Regions from separate parts of the Homo sapiens genome. Here all the other regions are linked to region 4. Evidence: promoter capture Hi-C in 16 types of primary human blood cells and fetal thymus (Javierre and others, 2016). All regions are on one chromosome and are shown on one strand. The core of a region is centred on a gene start or on the middle of the fragment in contact, and the rest is flanking DNA. Distances in the headings are between cores, read along the strand shown. Region 1 has its middle 25 kb from the start of RAB11FIP5. Region 2 has its middle 6.6 kb from the start of NOTO. Region 3 has its middle 27 kb from the start of NOTO. Region 4 holds the start of SFXN5 (sideroflexin 5).

What was found. Contacts are between HindIII fragments. The CHiCAGO score rates a contact against its expected background, and 5 or more counts as called.
Region 1: a contact is called between a fragment that was not itself captured here and the fragment with the promoter of SFXN5 in region 4, in 1 of 17 cell types (total CD8 T cells). The highest score is 5.1, in total CD8 T cells.
Region 2: a fragment that was not itself captured here is called in contact with the fragment with the promoter of SFXN5 in region 4 in 10 of 17 cell types (activated CD4 T cells, naive CD8 T cells, naive CD4 T cells and 7 more); the score reaches 8.2 in activated CD4 T cells.
Region 3: a fragment that was not itself captured here is called in contact with the fragment with the promoter of SFXN5 in region 4 in 2 of 17 cell types (naive B cells and non-activated CD4 T cells); the score reaches 5.4 in naive B cells.

The regions. Positions count from the first base shown.
Region 1 is chr2:73,136,372-73,139,887 of GRCh38, forward strand. No RefSeq gene overlaps it. Among named protein-coding and RNA genes, the nearest start is that of RAB11FIP5, 25 kb to the left of the region's middle. The HindIII fragment of the contact is 223 bases long and covers 2,014-2,236 here.
Region 2 is chr2:73,194,178-73,197,673 of GRCh38, forward strand. No RefSeq gene overlaps it. Among named protein-coding and RNA genes, the nearest start is that of NOTO, 6.6 kb to the right of the region's middle. RefSeq lists a silencer at 623-792. The HindIII fragment of the contact is 7,497 bases long and covers 1-3,496 here.
Region 3 is chr2:73,173,424-73,177,187 of GRCh38, forward strand. No RefSeq gene overlaps it. Among named protein-coding and RNA genes, the nearest start is that of NOTO, 27 kb to the right of the region's middle. RefSeq lists a silencer at 2,437-2,656 and enhancers at 2,792-3,465, 3,466-3,764. The HindIII fragment of the contact is 7,933 bases long and covers 1-3,764 here.
Region 4 is chr2:73,069,627-73,073,175 of GRCh38, forward strand. SFXN5 (sideroflexin 5) reads right to left here and starts at 2,086. Exons shown (of 14, transcript NM_144579.3): 1 at 1,978-2,086. The coding sequence starts at 2,079. RefSeq lists a silencer at 1,025-1,814 and enhancers at 1,955-2,004, 2,205-2,684. The HindIII fragment of the contact is 14,604 bases long and covers 1-3,549 here.

The DNA.
Region 1 (3,516 bases), core at 875-3,374, 67 kb after region 4:
GTCTTTTCTGTACCCTTTATATAAATGGATCATACAATATGGCCGGGCGTGGTGGCTCACGACTATAATCCCAGCACTTTGGGAGGCTGAGGTGGGCGGATCACTTGAGGTCAGGAGTTTGAGACCAGCCTGGCCAACATGGCGAAGCCCCATCTCTACAAAAAATACAAAAATTAGCTGGGTGTGGTGGCGCATGCCTGTAATCCCAGCTACTCGGGAGGTTGAGGCAGGAGAATAGCTTGAATGTGGAATGCAGAGGTTGCACTGAGCCGAGATCACGCCACTGCACTCCAGCCGGGGCAACAGAGTGAGACTCTGTCTCAAAAAAGTAAAATAAAATAAACAAAATAAACAAACAAAACATATATATAAGTAAATGGGATCAACAATATGTAGTCTTTATGTCTGGCTTTCACTTAGTATAATATGTTTTTGAGGTTCTTCTGTGTCACAGTGTATATTAGTAGTTCCTTCTTTTTCATCTTTTTTAAATTATTATTATTGTAGAGATAGGGTCTCTCTATGTTGCCCAGGTTGGTCTTGAACTCCTGGGTTCAAGGGATCTTCCCACCCCAGCATCCCAAAGTGCCGGGATTATACGCATGAGCTTCCACGCCTGACCTTTTTACTAAAAAGTAGTTCCTTTTTGGCCGAGCGCGGTGGCTCACGCCTGTAATCCCAGCACTTTGGGAGGCCGAGGCACGCAGATCACGAGGTCAGGAGATCGAGACCATCCTGGCTAACACGGTGAAACCCCGTCTCTACTAAAAATACAAAAAATTAGCCCGGCGTGGCGGCGGGCGCCTGTAGTCCCAGCTACTCGGGAGGCTGAGGCAGGAGAATGACGTGAACCCGGGAGGCGGAGCTTGCAGTGAGCCGAGGTCGCGCCACTACACTCCAGCCTGGGTGACAGCGAGACTCTGTCTCAAAAAAAAAAAAAAAATTAGCCGGGCGTGGTGGCGGGCGCCTGTAATCCCAGCCACTCAGGAGGCTGAGGCAGTAGAATTGCTTGAATCCGGGAGGCAGAGGTTGCAGTGAGCCAAGATCGCGCCACTGCACTCCAGCCTGGCGACAGAGCAAGACTCCATCTCAAAAAAAAAAAAAAAAAGCAGTTCCTTTTCATTGCTGTGTTCTGTCGTGTGAATATACCACATTACCACATTTTGTTGATCCATTAACCTGTTTATGGATATTTGGACTGTTTCCTGTTTGGGGTTATTATGAATAGTGCTGCTCTGAATATTCATGTACAAGTCTTTGTGGACATATGTTTTCATTTCTTTTGGGTAGATACCTAGGAATGGTAAGTTTTTCGTTTTAACTTTTTAAGAAACTGCCAAACTGTTCTTCGAAGTGGCTGTAACATTTTACATTCTCTTTTTCTTTTCCTTTTTTCTTTTTTTTTTTTTTTTTTTTTTTTTGAGACAGGGTCTCCCTCTGTCGCCCAGGCTGAAGTGCAGTGACACAATTTCAGCTCACTGCAACCTCTGCCACCTGGGCTCAACTGATTCTCCTGCCTCAACCTCCCGAATATCTGAGACTATCATGCGCCCCCACACCCGGCTAATTTTTTTGTATTTTTAGTAGAGACATGGTTTCACCATGTGGGCCAGGCTGGTCTCAAACTCCTGACCTCAAGTGATCCACCCACCTCAGCCTCCCAAAGTGCTGGGATTACAAGCATAAGCCACTGTGCCTAGCCCATTTTACATTCTCATCAGAAATGTATGAGGTATCTGGTTTCTCCACATCCTTACCAACACTGTATTAAATATCTTTTCCCACTGAATTGCCTTGGCCAAAAATAAGTAGACCTTACATGTGAGGTCTGAGCTCTAAATTCTAGTCCATTGGCCTGTATGTCTATCCTTATGCCAATACCACATTGTTTTGATTACTGTAGCTTTGTAGTAAGTTTTGAAATCAGAAAGTGTGAGTCCTCCAGTTTTGTTATTTTCCAAGATCATTTTCACTATTCCAGATCCTTTGCATTTCCATATTAATTTTAGAATAAGCTTGTCAATTTCAGCAAAAATGGCAACCAAGATTTTGATAGGTATTGAAAGGGGAAAACAAACAGGTTTTCTATACTCAAAAACACTTCCGAAACCAAATGTCTGGGATTTTTTTCCCCGCACATCAAGCAATTCTTCAGTTCTCTGCAAACATCAACTGGGTGTCCAATGACTCAATTCAACTCTGACAGTAGCTACCTGGAGTTAGTGTGAGACCCCAAAGCTTAAGGGCTCAGTCCCACAATACTGCCCCTGACTTCAAATGCCAATCTCAAGTAATGGGTCCCCAGGTTACCCACACTTCTGTGTGACTTAGCTACAAGTGAGGGTTTCCTACAACCACCTATTCAGATTCAATAATCTGCTGTAATGGCTCGCAGAACTCAGGGAAGCACTTACATGTACGGTTTATTATAAAGGATACAACTCAGGAACAGCCAAATGGAAGAGACAGGGTATGAGGAGGGAGGGGCACAGAGCTTCCATAGCCTTTCAGGCCTCGCACCCTCCCAGCACCTTAATGTGTTCACCAACCTGGAAGATCTCCAAACCCTGTCATTTAGGGTTTTTATGGAAGTCCCATTATGTAGGCATGATTTATTAAATCATTGACCTTCTGTGACTGACATTAATCTTCAGCCCTTCTCCCCTCCCCAGAGGTCAAAGAGATGGGGCTGAAAATTCCAACCCTCTAATTACAAGGTTGGTTCCTCTGTCAACCAGCCCCCATCCTCCAAGAGTCACCTCATTAGCATAAACCCAGGTATGGTTGAAAGGGGCTTATTATGAATAACCAAAGGTGTTCCTCTCACCCCTATCACTCAGGGGAATCACAAGACTTTTAGCAGCTCTGTGCTAGGAACCCGGGGAAGAGACCAAATATATATTTCTTGTTATGTCACAGGATTGCATTAAATTTGCAGATCCATTTGGGCAATATTACAATATTGCTATCTTAACAATAATAGTTTATCTGTTTTGTTTTGTTTTTAGAGATGGGTCTTGCTATGTTGCCCAGGCTGGCTCAAGCAATCCTCCTGCCTTGGCCTCTCTAAGTGCTGAGATTACAGGCGACAACAGTAGTTTGTTGTTGTTTCTATATACAGGATCACGTCATCTGTGGGAAAAAAAGACAGTTTTACTTCTTTTCCAATGTTGATGCCTTTATTCTTATTTTTTGGCCTTATCACACTGACTTGAATCTCCAGGACAATGTTGATTGAAAGTGGCAAGAGCTGACATTCTTGCCTTGTTCCTGATCTCAAGGAGAAACATTCAGTCTTGCATCATTATATGTAATGTTGATGGTAGGTTTCAGTTAGATATGCTTTATCAAGTTAAGAGAGCTCCCTTTTATTCCAAGTTCAAGGGTTTTTTTTTAACCATCAATGGATGTTGGATTTTGTCAAATGTTTTTTCTGCATCTGTTGAGATCATATGATTTTGTCCTTTATTTTATTAATACAGTGATTCATCTTAATTGGTTTTCAGATGTTAACTC
Region 2 (3,496 bases), core at 811-3,310, 120 kb after region 4:
GCAGTGGCGCAATCTCAGCTCACTGCAACCTCCGCCTCCTGGGTTCAAGCAATTCTCCTGTATCAGCCTTCCAAGTAACTGGGATTACAGGCACCCACCACAATGCCTGCCTAATTTTTATATTTTTAGTAGAGATGGAGTTTCGCCATGTTGGTCTTGCTGATCTTGAACTGACCTCAGGTGATCTGCCCACCTCGGCCTCTCAAAGTGCTGGTACTACAGGCATGAGCCACTGTGCCCAGCTTTTAAGAATTTTTTTATGCTAGGGAAATTTGTCTATCAACTGGCTCTTCTTTTGTGACATTTTCTCAAATTGTATTTTGTCTTTTAAAAAACACAGTGGGAAGGGGGCAAGGGGGCAAGGGGCAGGGGGCAGCTGGGCTAGGTGGCTCAAGACTATAATCCCAGCCCTTTGGGCTGAGGCAAGAGGATTGCCTGAGGCCAGGAGTTTGAGATCAGCCTGGGCAACATGGCAATGTCCCATCACTACAAAAAAACTTTTTTTTTTAATATTTATTTATTTATTTAGAAATGGAGTCTCACTCTATCACCCAGGCTGGAGTGCAGTGGTGCAATCTTGGCTCATTGCAACCTCCATCTCCTGAGTTCAAGCGATTCTCCTGCCTCAGCCTCCTGAGTAGCTGAGATTTTAGGCACCCACCACCACACCTAGCTAATTTTTGTATTTTTTGTAGAGACGGGGTTTCACCATGTTGGCCAGGCTAGTCTGGAACTCCTGACTTCAAGTGATCTGCCTACCTCGGCCTCCCAAAGTGCTGGGATTATAGACGTGAGCCACTGGGCCTGGCCAAAAATTTTTTTTTAAATACAGAGGGGTAGGAAAAAAATATGAAACATTTCAAGCCTATAGACAAGTATAGAGAATAATAAAAAGAATATCCATATACCCACCACTACTCAGTTTCATCAAACATTTTTACTATGGTTGTTTTGTGTTAAGAAATAAAACAATACAGAAAGTTGACAGCCCAAGTGACCCTCCCTAATCCTACTCCCTTCTCCCTACCCGGAGCTCATCTTTATTTTGATTGTCATGTTTATCATGCCTAAGAATGCCTTTAGACTTTTACCAAGGTATTTATGTTTTATGTTATACATGGTTAAACTTTTTTTTTTTTTTTTTTGAGACAGAGTCTCACTCTGTTGCCCAGGCTGGAGTGGAGTGGCCCGATCTCAGCTCACTGCAACCTCCACCTCCTGGGTTCAAGCAATTCTTCTGCCTCAGCCTCCCAAATAGCTGGGACTACAGATGCATGCCACCATGCCCGGCTAATTTTTGTATTTTTAGTAGAGACGGGGTTTCACCATATTGGCCAGACTGGTCTTGAACTCCTGACCTCGTGATCTGCCCACCTTGGCCTCCCAAAGTGCTGGGATAACCGCGCCTGGCCGGTTAAACCTTATTATAAATTTGTTGTGTCAACTTAGCTAAGCTGGAACTACATTTCCCGGAATTTCCTTCCCTGAATGGTTTTGGGCATGATGCTTAGGACACAGAAGTGAAGCAGCAGCCGTGTTTAGCAGTGCAGAGCAGGTGCTATGGCAGCTCACACGCATTATGGCAGATCTACTGGCTCGTTTTGCAGATGGAGGCCACAGCTGGGCGTGTAGGTCCTTCAGCTCCCACCAGACCCTCTTCTGTTTTCCCAGCTCCTGAGCCGAGTATGTGCTTAGTTTCAGAATGAAGGACACCAGACTTCCTTGCAAGTCACCTGCATTAACAAAATGAGAGGCTTGGAGGTGGTGTGAGACTGAGGCAGGTTTTAGCTCATTCTTGCCCTTCTTCCTGGGTTCCAGTTTGTCCTAATTTTCCCACTTCACATCCATCTTTCCTTCCCCAATGCCTGCCTGTGGACTTTAGTCCCAGACCCAGACAAAGAAGTAACATCCTCACAGAGAGCTATTACCAGTTCCCACAGTTGTGTAAGGTCAAATTCCCATAATAAAATCCTTTATTCTTTGGGGTTGAGTATGATGAAAAAAAAAAATCCTTTATTCTGTTAGGCACAGTGGTGTGCACCTGTAATCTCAGCTACTCAGGAGGCTGAGGCAAGAGAATCATTGAGTCCAGGAGTTCAAGATGTGCCTGGGCAACAGAGCAAGATCCCCATCTCAAAAAAAAAAATCCTTTATTCTTTGTCACTCCTAGGGGTCCTGCTTCTCCGATTGGATCATGACTAATAGAGAATCTGCTACTGGACATGGTTCCAAGAATAACAGAACCTTAGTGGGTGATGGGTTCAGTCTGGGTCATCTAGAATTGATTCTGTGACCTAAATAGATTTAAAGGCATAAATAACCCTTACCAGAGGTTGTCAGGGGTAAAGAGATCACTGGTTCTTCATGGTATGCCATAGGAAAAAAAGTTATTTATTTATTTAATTTTAATTTTAATTTTAATTTATTTATTTTTGAGACAGAGTCTGACACTCTTGTTGCCTAGGCTGGAGTGCAATGGCAAGATCTCGGCTCAGTGCAACCTTTGCCTCCTGGGTTCAAGCGATTCTCCTGCCTTAGCCTCTCAAGTAGCTGAGAATACCGGCACCCAGCCCCACGACCGGCTAATTTTTGTATTTTTAGTAGAGATGGGGTTTCACCATGTTGGCCAGGCTGGTCTCGAACTGACCTCAGGTGATCTGCCCGCCTCGGCCTCCCAAAGTGCTGGGATTACAGGTGTGAGCCACTGCACTCAGCCAAAAAAGTTATTTAAATGATCACTTGCAGACACTGTAATCAGGTGTCTATAGAAGTCAAATCTTTGATTGACCAAATGTTTGCTTGAATATAACAATTATGATGACATTGGTGAGTTGTTTCTAAGTGCCCTGAAGAATTTAGGGAAAGAATATGAGGAGTCGGGATTTTGAATTCCCATCTCAAGGTCCATGGAAAGGACCTGAAAGTTTTGTGGCTGTCCTATGATGTAAATTATGTTCCCAACCTCTCAGGTCTCTTCTGCTAAAAATTGTGTCATTGATTGGGAAGAAGAGAGACTGTAAAAATTGCGATGAAGATATATATGGCCAGGTTCCAACAAATCTGAGCCCCTAAATTCTGCTGAATCTCTTTTCACAGTAGAAGTAACTTTCCACTCTTATCTGAAAAAGTGAATCTCAGCTAGGCGCAGTGGCTCATGCCTGTAATCCCAGCATTTTGGGAGGCTGAGGCAGGAGGATTGCTTAAGCCCATGAGCTCAAGACCTGCCTGTGCAACTCTGTCTCTACAAAAAATTTAAAAAATTAGCCAATGGTTTCTTTGGTTTCAAAAAGAACTAAAAATAACAAAACCAAAAAAAAAAAAAACAGGAAAGAAAAAGAAAAATTAGCTGGGCATGAGGCAGGAGGATCCATTTAGCCCAGGAGTTCAAGGTTACAATGAGATATGATCACATCACTTCACTCCAGCCTGGGTGACAGAGCAAGACCCTGTCTCAAAAAAAAGAAGTGAATCTCCCCTTGCCTGAAGGTCTTGTAAT
Region 3 (3,764 bases), core at 1,222-3,721, 100 kb after region 4:
GCCTCCCGAGTAGCTGGGATTACAGGCACCCACCACCACGACCAGCCAATTTTTGTATTTTTAGTAGAGATGGGGTTTCGCCATGTTGGCCAGGCTGGTCCCAAACACCTGACCTCAGGTGATCCGCCTGCCTCGGCCTCCCAAAGTGCTGAGATTACAAGCGTGAGCCACCGCACCTGGCCTAATTCTTGTATTTTTGGTGGAGACAAGGTTTCACCATATTGGCCAGGCTGGTCACGAACTCCTGACCTCAAGTGATCTGCCTGCCTCAGCCTCCCAAACTGCTGGGATTACAGGTGTGAGCTACCGCGCCCGGCCGAATCTTCATAATTTGCCTGATGTGATTACTGAGTATGACGAGATCTCATAGTCCATGCACAAAGAGAGGCTTCTAGGACCCAGAACCTTGGCTTCCACACATCTCTGTCAACGTAGAAACACATGACCTGGATCACCCTCTCCTCAACCAGAAATAGGCATTAGGAGGACTTGTCTGACCAGTCTTCAGAGGTGGGTGAGAGGGCCTTGGGGTTCATCATACAGGGCAGATAAGGAGTTCCAGGACAGGCTTGGTCCCTGCCCTCAGGGAGCTCAGCATTTGGCTGGAAAGAGAAACAGGACATAGAACTAGATGTGAGAGCAAGCACGCACCAATTGTGCAAACTCACGCTCAGGCAGCGGGGCCTGAGTATTAAAAGGGGCTTGAGGTAAAGCGAGCAACCTAGAAGTGCCCACTGCAGCCAGCCGTGTCTAGGGGAAAGTATTCAGGCAGGCCTCAGGGAGAAGAGGGTGGCAGACACATGGTATTTACTCACTCAGGTATTATTCAGCACTCCATGTCTGAATAGAGCCTAGCTTTGTGTCTGAATAACACAGGTACTGCTCTTGGCAGTGACTGCAAAGCATGACGTCCCTGCCTCGCGCTGTTCCACCTAAGATATAGTCAGTACCAACCGAGTGAGTAGTGAGGATGACGGCGAGGTGATGGGGGGGCTCTGAGGCAAATCAACAGGTTATGGGAGTGACTGGAGCTATCTGAGGCCAGGGGACAGCTCTCTTAGGCAAGATGAGGGCAGGCCAAGGATGAGAGTGAGGGGAGGACGCACTCCCTCAGGTGCTAGCCCTGCATTTACAGGGCCTCGAGAGGGAGTGCCTCCTTAAGATGTGTGCCTCAGTGGAACGTCACTTGCCTCACCCTAGTGCAGCCGTGTTCAAGGGTATACAAGGGGAGGTCACTGAGGCATGAGGGTCTAGTTTGCTATGGTTTCCTCTTAGCCAGAAGCCTGATTTCTCTCCTGTGTCTCTGCTGTTGTGTTCTACATTGGCCCAGCCTCTGCCCCCAACCCCAGTGTTTGTTCCCAGGTTTCAGGGTGTCAGAGAAGGCCCCTGCTCACCAGATCCCAGAGGGCCCCGCAGCAAGCCTTGCCCCTGCACAGAGAAGTCAGGCTTTGAACTGTGGGCCTAGACTCAGGGAGGTCGACTCAGTAGGCAAATGCTCAGTTTTCCTGGCCTGGGGTGGCTATTCTGGGAGGGGGAAGGGGTGTAAGTTCAGGCTCAGATAGGAAGCTGAAAGGTGGGAGGGAAGAAACAAAACTCACCCCAGATGGCAACTGGGTCTTGTCCCTGTGAAGCTATCACCCAGTCATCAGTGGGTTTGCCCCGAAAGGCTCCATAGAACCCTATTTCTCTCCTCATCTGCACTGAGCTCTATTTTGTAGAATGGACCATGTCAATTTCCCAGCTTGAAGCACTTGGCATTCCTCTCCTGTGAGGCCCAGGTTTCTCTGGGCAGACCACAGGAAGCAGGCTCAGGCCACCGCATAAGTACGGGGTCTTGAGGGTGATTTGTGTTTGGGTGGTTGGGGATCTCCTAACCCGGGCTCCACAGTGAGCTCTCAGGGGTGTCAAGCCCAGTCGCGCTCAAGGGCCCTCTGCACTGTCTCCTTCACCGGGACAGCAGGGTCTGAGGTCCCGCCTTTCTCGGCCTGGGGCGTGCATGGCCTGGGCTCCATTGCAAGTTTTTGGACGTCCCCTTTCTCCCCCACCCCATCTTTTCCCTGGCGATCTCACTGCCCTTTCCAGGAGCACGCTCCCGCTCTGAGTCCGGAAGGACCCCGCGGGGGTCCTGACAGCCTCCCGGGCCCAGGGTGGGGATTGTGATGGCCCCTCGGGAGCTGGGTTGAGCCGGCGGCTCCTGAGCTAATCAATGGGCTGCAGCCGGCGGAAGGGGCCCGGCGGGGGGATTAGGAGCCGAGAAGGGCAATTACCCGGGTGGGCCGCTCCCCCGCTCGCCTTCGCCGCGCTGCTCAAATGCCGCATTTCGGATGCAGCGCCGCGCTCGGCCTGTTTGCTTGCAGAGCCGGGGCCCCGGGGCAGGAAGCCAACTCGCAAGTGTATCGGAGATTAGGGCCCGCGGCGGCGGGGGCGGGCGCTGGGCAAACACGCGGCGGCCGCCTCAATCCCCAGTGCTCGATTCCGCCCGCGGCGGTGCCTGCCCGGCAGTGACTCGGTGGTGGGGGAAGGGGGCGGCCCCGGCTCCCAGCGCCCGGGTGCCCTCGACGCCCACCCCGGGGGATACTCGGGGAGGCAGGCACCGGATGGGGAGCGACGGGTTTTTCCTTCGGGAGAGGCCACCCGGGCACGGTCTCCTTTCGCCCCATCCTCAGGCACACCTCGCCGCGCCGTCTTGAGGCCTGGTTCTAACCCTCCCGTCTCCCGCACCCCTAGTTCCCCGTCTGCCTAGTGGGTCGAGGGGAAGGGGAACCGGTTGGGGAAGGGAAGGAAAAAGACCCAAAGGCGGAGGTGTGAAGACTGGAGAGTGGCGGGGCCCCGCCCGGTGCGTACTTGGGGGTCAGTGCCCGCGACCGCAGGGCGGGGCGGCGGGCACGACACCCGGTGATGTCCAGGGAACTCGCGGACCTCAGCCGCAGGGCTGAGTCCTCAGCTGCTCCGGGAAGCGAGACTTCGGCAGGCATCCAGCAGCCCCAGGGTACAAGACCGAGTCTTAAACCAGATCTCAGGGCCCCCAGAGGTCGGAAGGACAGCCTAGAACTCCAGAACCAGCTCCTCTCCTGGTAGCCGCACCCCCAGCTAGAGTTCCTCTGGCCCTGCCCCTGCCCTCCCGCCCCGCAAATTCCAACTCTTTCCCGTTTCCCAGGCGGACTGCTCATTCCTACAAACAAGACTTTGCCCTGGCTTCTCCAAATTCTGCCCACCTATCAAGGCACAGCTAGCTCCCAGCCTCTTCCTCCAGGAAGTTCTCCAGTTTTCCAGCTCAGAGGGCTGTGCGCAAATTTAGCATCTGATTCCATCTCAGGGTCCCTCTGCGAAGGTCTTTAGCCTCCCCCCCACTTTTCTTTCAAAGAAAGGCGGTATGTTCAGTATGGGCTGGCAGGTTTGGTCTAGGATAGGATCCCTCATCCCTTAGAAAGACGTAGGGGCTTGAAAGCGCAGTAGGCTGGTCCCTGGGGCACCTGTGCCCAAGCGGGCCTCCTCTCTGGAGTGACGCAGGGACTCCCCACTCATGCCTCACTCTGGCTCCTGGGACACCCCCAACCCAGCCCCTGGGAGGCGAAGACGCTTTGTAACCAGCCCTCTTCTTGGAAGGTTATGAAGTCCTATGCTATTGGTGCTTCTGAACTGACCAAGCCACTTCCCCGCTCTACGCCTTCTCTTCTTCACCCTCCCCTAAGTTCCGTAGTGAGCTGCTGGGACTTCCAGAAGTGACCGGCTCTTCCTCCTGGGAGGAGGGGCGGGGAATGTTT
Region 4 (3,549 bases), core at 836-3,335:
AGCAGTGCCAAAAAGAAGTACCGCTATGGCTGCAGGAACAGGGTAGCCTAAAATGTTTATCTATGGCTCTAGAGCAGTGCTCACAGCACAGGGCTCAGTCATATAAGCCACTAAGACGTATTTGATAAATGTCTGTTAGGTCACTGAATGTCCCTAGTGCCACATACAGATAACAGACACCAGGACAAAAAGAAAAAGAAAAAAAAAAAGGAAACACAAATCTTTTACTCGGCACATTACTATATGCCTAACCTGTCTCCATCAGGGTAAGACAGAGGCAGAGAAGGGCAAGATCAGCCCCTTCTTGCAAAAGGCCTACAGGGGGTTTGAGGAAACCAAGTCGTCACACAGCAAACATTTAGAAGACCACAGGGCAGACTGTATGGAGAGCTATGAGGATCTGACTCAGGTGGCCAAAGAGATGTGCAGGAGGAAGCCTGCGATCTGATGGGACCAGAGAAGAAGGGAGCAAGTGTTTGCCAGAGAGGCAGGCCCGACTGAGCCTTTAAGAACGAGCAGAATGGGGGTGGGAGCGGGGACAGGCAATGTAATAAGGTCACTCAAGTCCAGGCAGGGACACCCCGACACTCTCGCCCTAGATGGCCTCCTACACTGGAAGGAAGATGCCAGTCTCGCCTCGGATACCTACATGCTGAGATGGCCTACTTTTAAAAGGAATTAAAGTCCTGTTAAGAAACACTGGGGACATTTTTTTCAGACGGCTCAGGAGCCAAGTTCCCTAATTATCAGCAAAGCTCGGGGCACCCCCTTGCTGGAACCAGTCCCCTTCCACCACAACAACAAAAAAAGAAAAAAAAAGCCACCGCACCGACCTTAGCACAATTTCCTTTCTTCCTTCAAAGTTCTTTTCTGGCCGCCTCGGCTGCCGCCCACCCCTGGCAAGCCCCGGTTCACTTCAGCGGTCTCTCTGCCTGTTTCCTAATAAATTCCGTCTCATTGGTGCGGGAGGCGCGGGAGCCCGAGGGTCTGCGGCGCGGGAGCGGCCCCTCCCCGGCTCCGGTCTCCGGGCCCAACCAGGCGCCCGGGCTCCGCGTTCCACCCCCGCCTCCGCAGTCTAGGGCCGAGTCGGCGACGCCCCAGAGGAGGTCCCGGAGGGAAAGGACCCCTGTCGCCGTGCCCCGAAGAGCCTGAGCGGGTGTGCCCAGAGCCAGTCCCCGGCGGCGCGGGGGCCCGGGCGCGGGAGACCCTCCGCGGAGAACACAGCGAGGAAGAGGCTGGGGGGGGGTTCCCAGGCGGCAGCCCCTCGGAGGGACGACGGCCCCAGGGGATGACACAGCGTTTCCCCCGCACGCCCTGGCTGCGTCCCCTCAGGGCATCGGCCGGCTTGCTGCGTCAGCGAATCCTCAGCCCGAGATGGAGAGCAGGGACGGGGGACGCCGGACCGCCGCTCGCCTCGGCACTCGCCCCCTCAACCTGCTGCGCGCGCCGAGCCCGGCTTGGGGGCCAGGGCTGGGGAGTGACCGCGGGGCGCGACGCTGCCCGGCGGCACCGCCAGCAGCTCGAAAGGAACGTCAGTCCCCACCGGGGGAAAAAGTTAGAAGGCATCCCGGCCACGCCAACTTCCCATCCAGGGCCAGACTAGAACTTTGCGTCCCGGGCGGGCAGCTGCACAACCCGGAGCGACCCTGAGCAGCCGCTCGAAGCCGGGCGCTCGGGACCTTGACCGCAGCCGCCGGTGGCCAATCACAGGGCGCCGCGGGCGGGAAAGGCTAGAGGGCGCGGGCAGTCGGGGAGTGACGGCGCCAAGGGCCAATAGGAAGCCAAGATGGGAGTCCGCGCCCGCCCCGTTGACCAATGGGAAAAGGGTGACTGTGACCGAGGTTCCCCCCCTGGCGCTAGCTGCAGGCTCCGCTGGCCGCGGGTGGGAGACCCTTGGGCGGAAGGGGACTTTGGAGGGGAGTTTGCTCGTCCTCTCTTTGCCACCCGCCGGCCCGCAGACCACAGCCCGGTCCTCACCTGCTGGAAGCGGGGTTTGCCCAGTTGGAAAGGAGGTGCATCGCTCGAGGCGCTAGCGGCACTAGCCGCCGCCGCCGATGCTGTAGTCGCTGTATCCGCCATGGCCACTGACGCCCGCAATCTCCGGCCCTTTTAAAATGTCCCTCCTCGGCCCCCGCCACAGCTGCCTCTCCCGATTGGCCCTAATCAACCGCAGCGAGCGGGAGGCGCAAGGCGTTGTGGGGAGTGTAGTTTTTCGCGTCGCGGCGCTTACAACCGTAGACTGCGGAGAGTTGCGGCCGTCCGGAGAGGTCTCGGTGCCCGCTGTCCGCGTTGCAAGGTGCAAGGTCGGCAGTCCAGGAAAGGTGTTCCTGTACGACGACCACGGGCCACCCCTCGCTGCTTAGTTGCCCCCAGAAGTTAGAGTTGCTGCCGTGGGCGTCGCTCCTGGGGCCAGGCAGCGCAGAAGGGTCCCATTCAAGGGGGAACCTGGGACCAGATGGGCAAAGACTCCAGGCGGAGTAGGGTTAACCTCGGAAGGCTTTCTCCAAGGAGTTGCACTGCGGACCTTCTCGTACTTTCCTCCGTCGCCACCCTGCCCACTCGTCCTGTGCTCTCCGGCTGCCCTGACACTCAGTTCCTGGAGCATGCTGGGGCCTGCCCGCCTCCCGACCCCTGAACATTCTGTACCCGGAAGACTAAATCTTCGCCTGATGCTGGCTTTCTGGCTTTAGCCTAAACATTGCATTTCCCAGTCCATCACTCTGCTTGCACAAAATCCCACAGAGGCTCCGTGGCACCCAGCACTTCTCTTTTGCACTCACAACTACTTACTGTTCTGGACAGTCTTTCTTACTGTAAAGTTCACAGGGCAGGGGCTATGACTTTTTGATTCACTTCAGTTTTCAGAGCCAGACATAAAAGGGCTCACAGTAGAGACTCAAATAAGTGTTGGCTGTGAGTTCATCAGTGGGGGATTAAGAGCCCTGGCAGCTTTCACCTTGTCTGGCCAACCAAGGAAGATCCCTCCTGGGCCTAATTCCTGGGCAGGAGGAGAACTTGGGACTAGGGTGGGTGGGGAGGGTGTTAGGTAAGGGGGAGTATTACAGATTGTGGAGTAAGGATCAGTATGGATAATAAACACATACAGTTGTAGAATGGATTAGCTGAAGATTCCCAGCTGAATTACCTGGTCAGTGAGCCAGACTTCGGGAGCTGCCTGTTTTGCCCAAGATGACAGTAGAAATATTTGGTCTTCTAGGGAACTCCACTTTGGGTCTCATTAGTCTCGTGGTGGAGTGCAGGGTTGGCTCATGTCTGCCAGTGTTTCTGGACACTACATGAGCTGTAGCAGTCAAAGTTTTTCATCCTCTAGTAGTTGAACCACAAGAAACACTTTTCATAAAGCTAGGGGGAGATTCTAGCTAGCCACGAAGAACAATTTGTATCTTGGATTTGTATCTTATCTTAGAGATTCTATCTAGCCATGAAGAACTATTTGTATCTTGGATTTGTATCTTATCTTCCCCTGCTAGACCATGCAACTTGAGAATAGGAATCCATTTCTTACCCTCTGTATTACCAATAAATGGG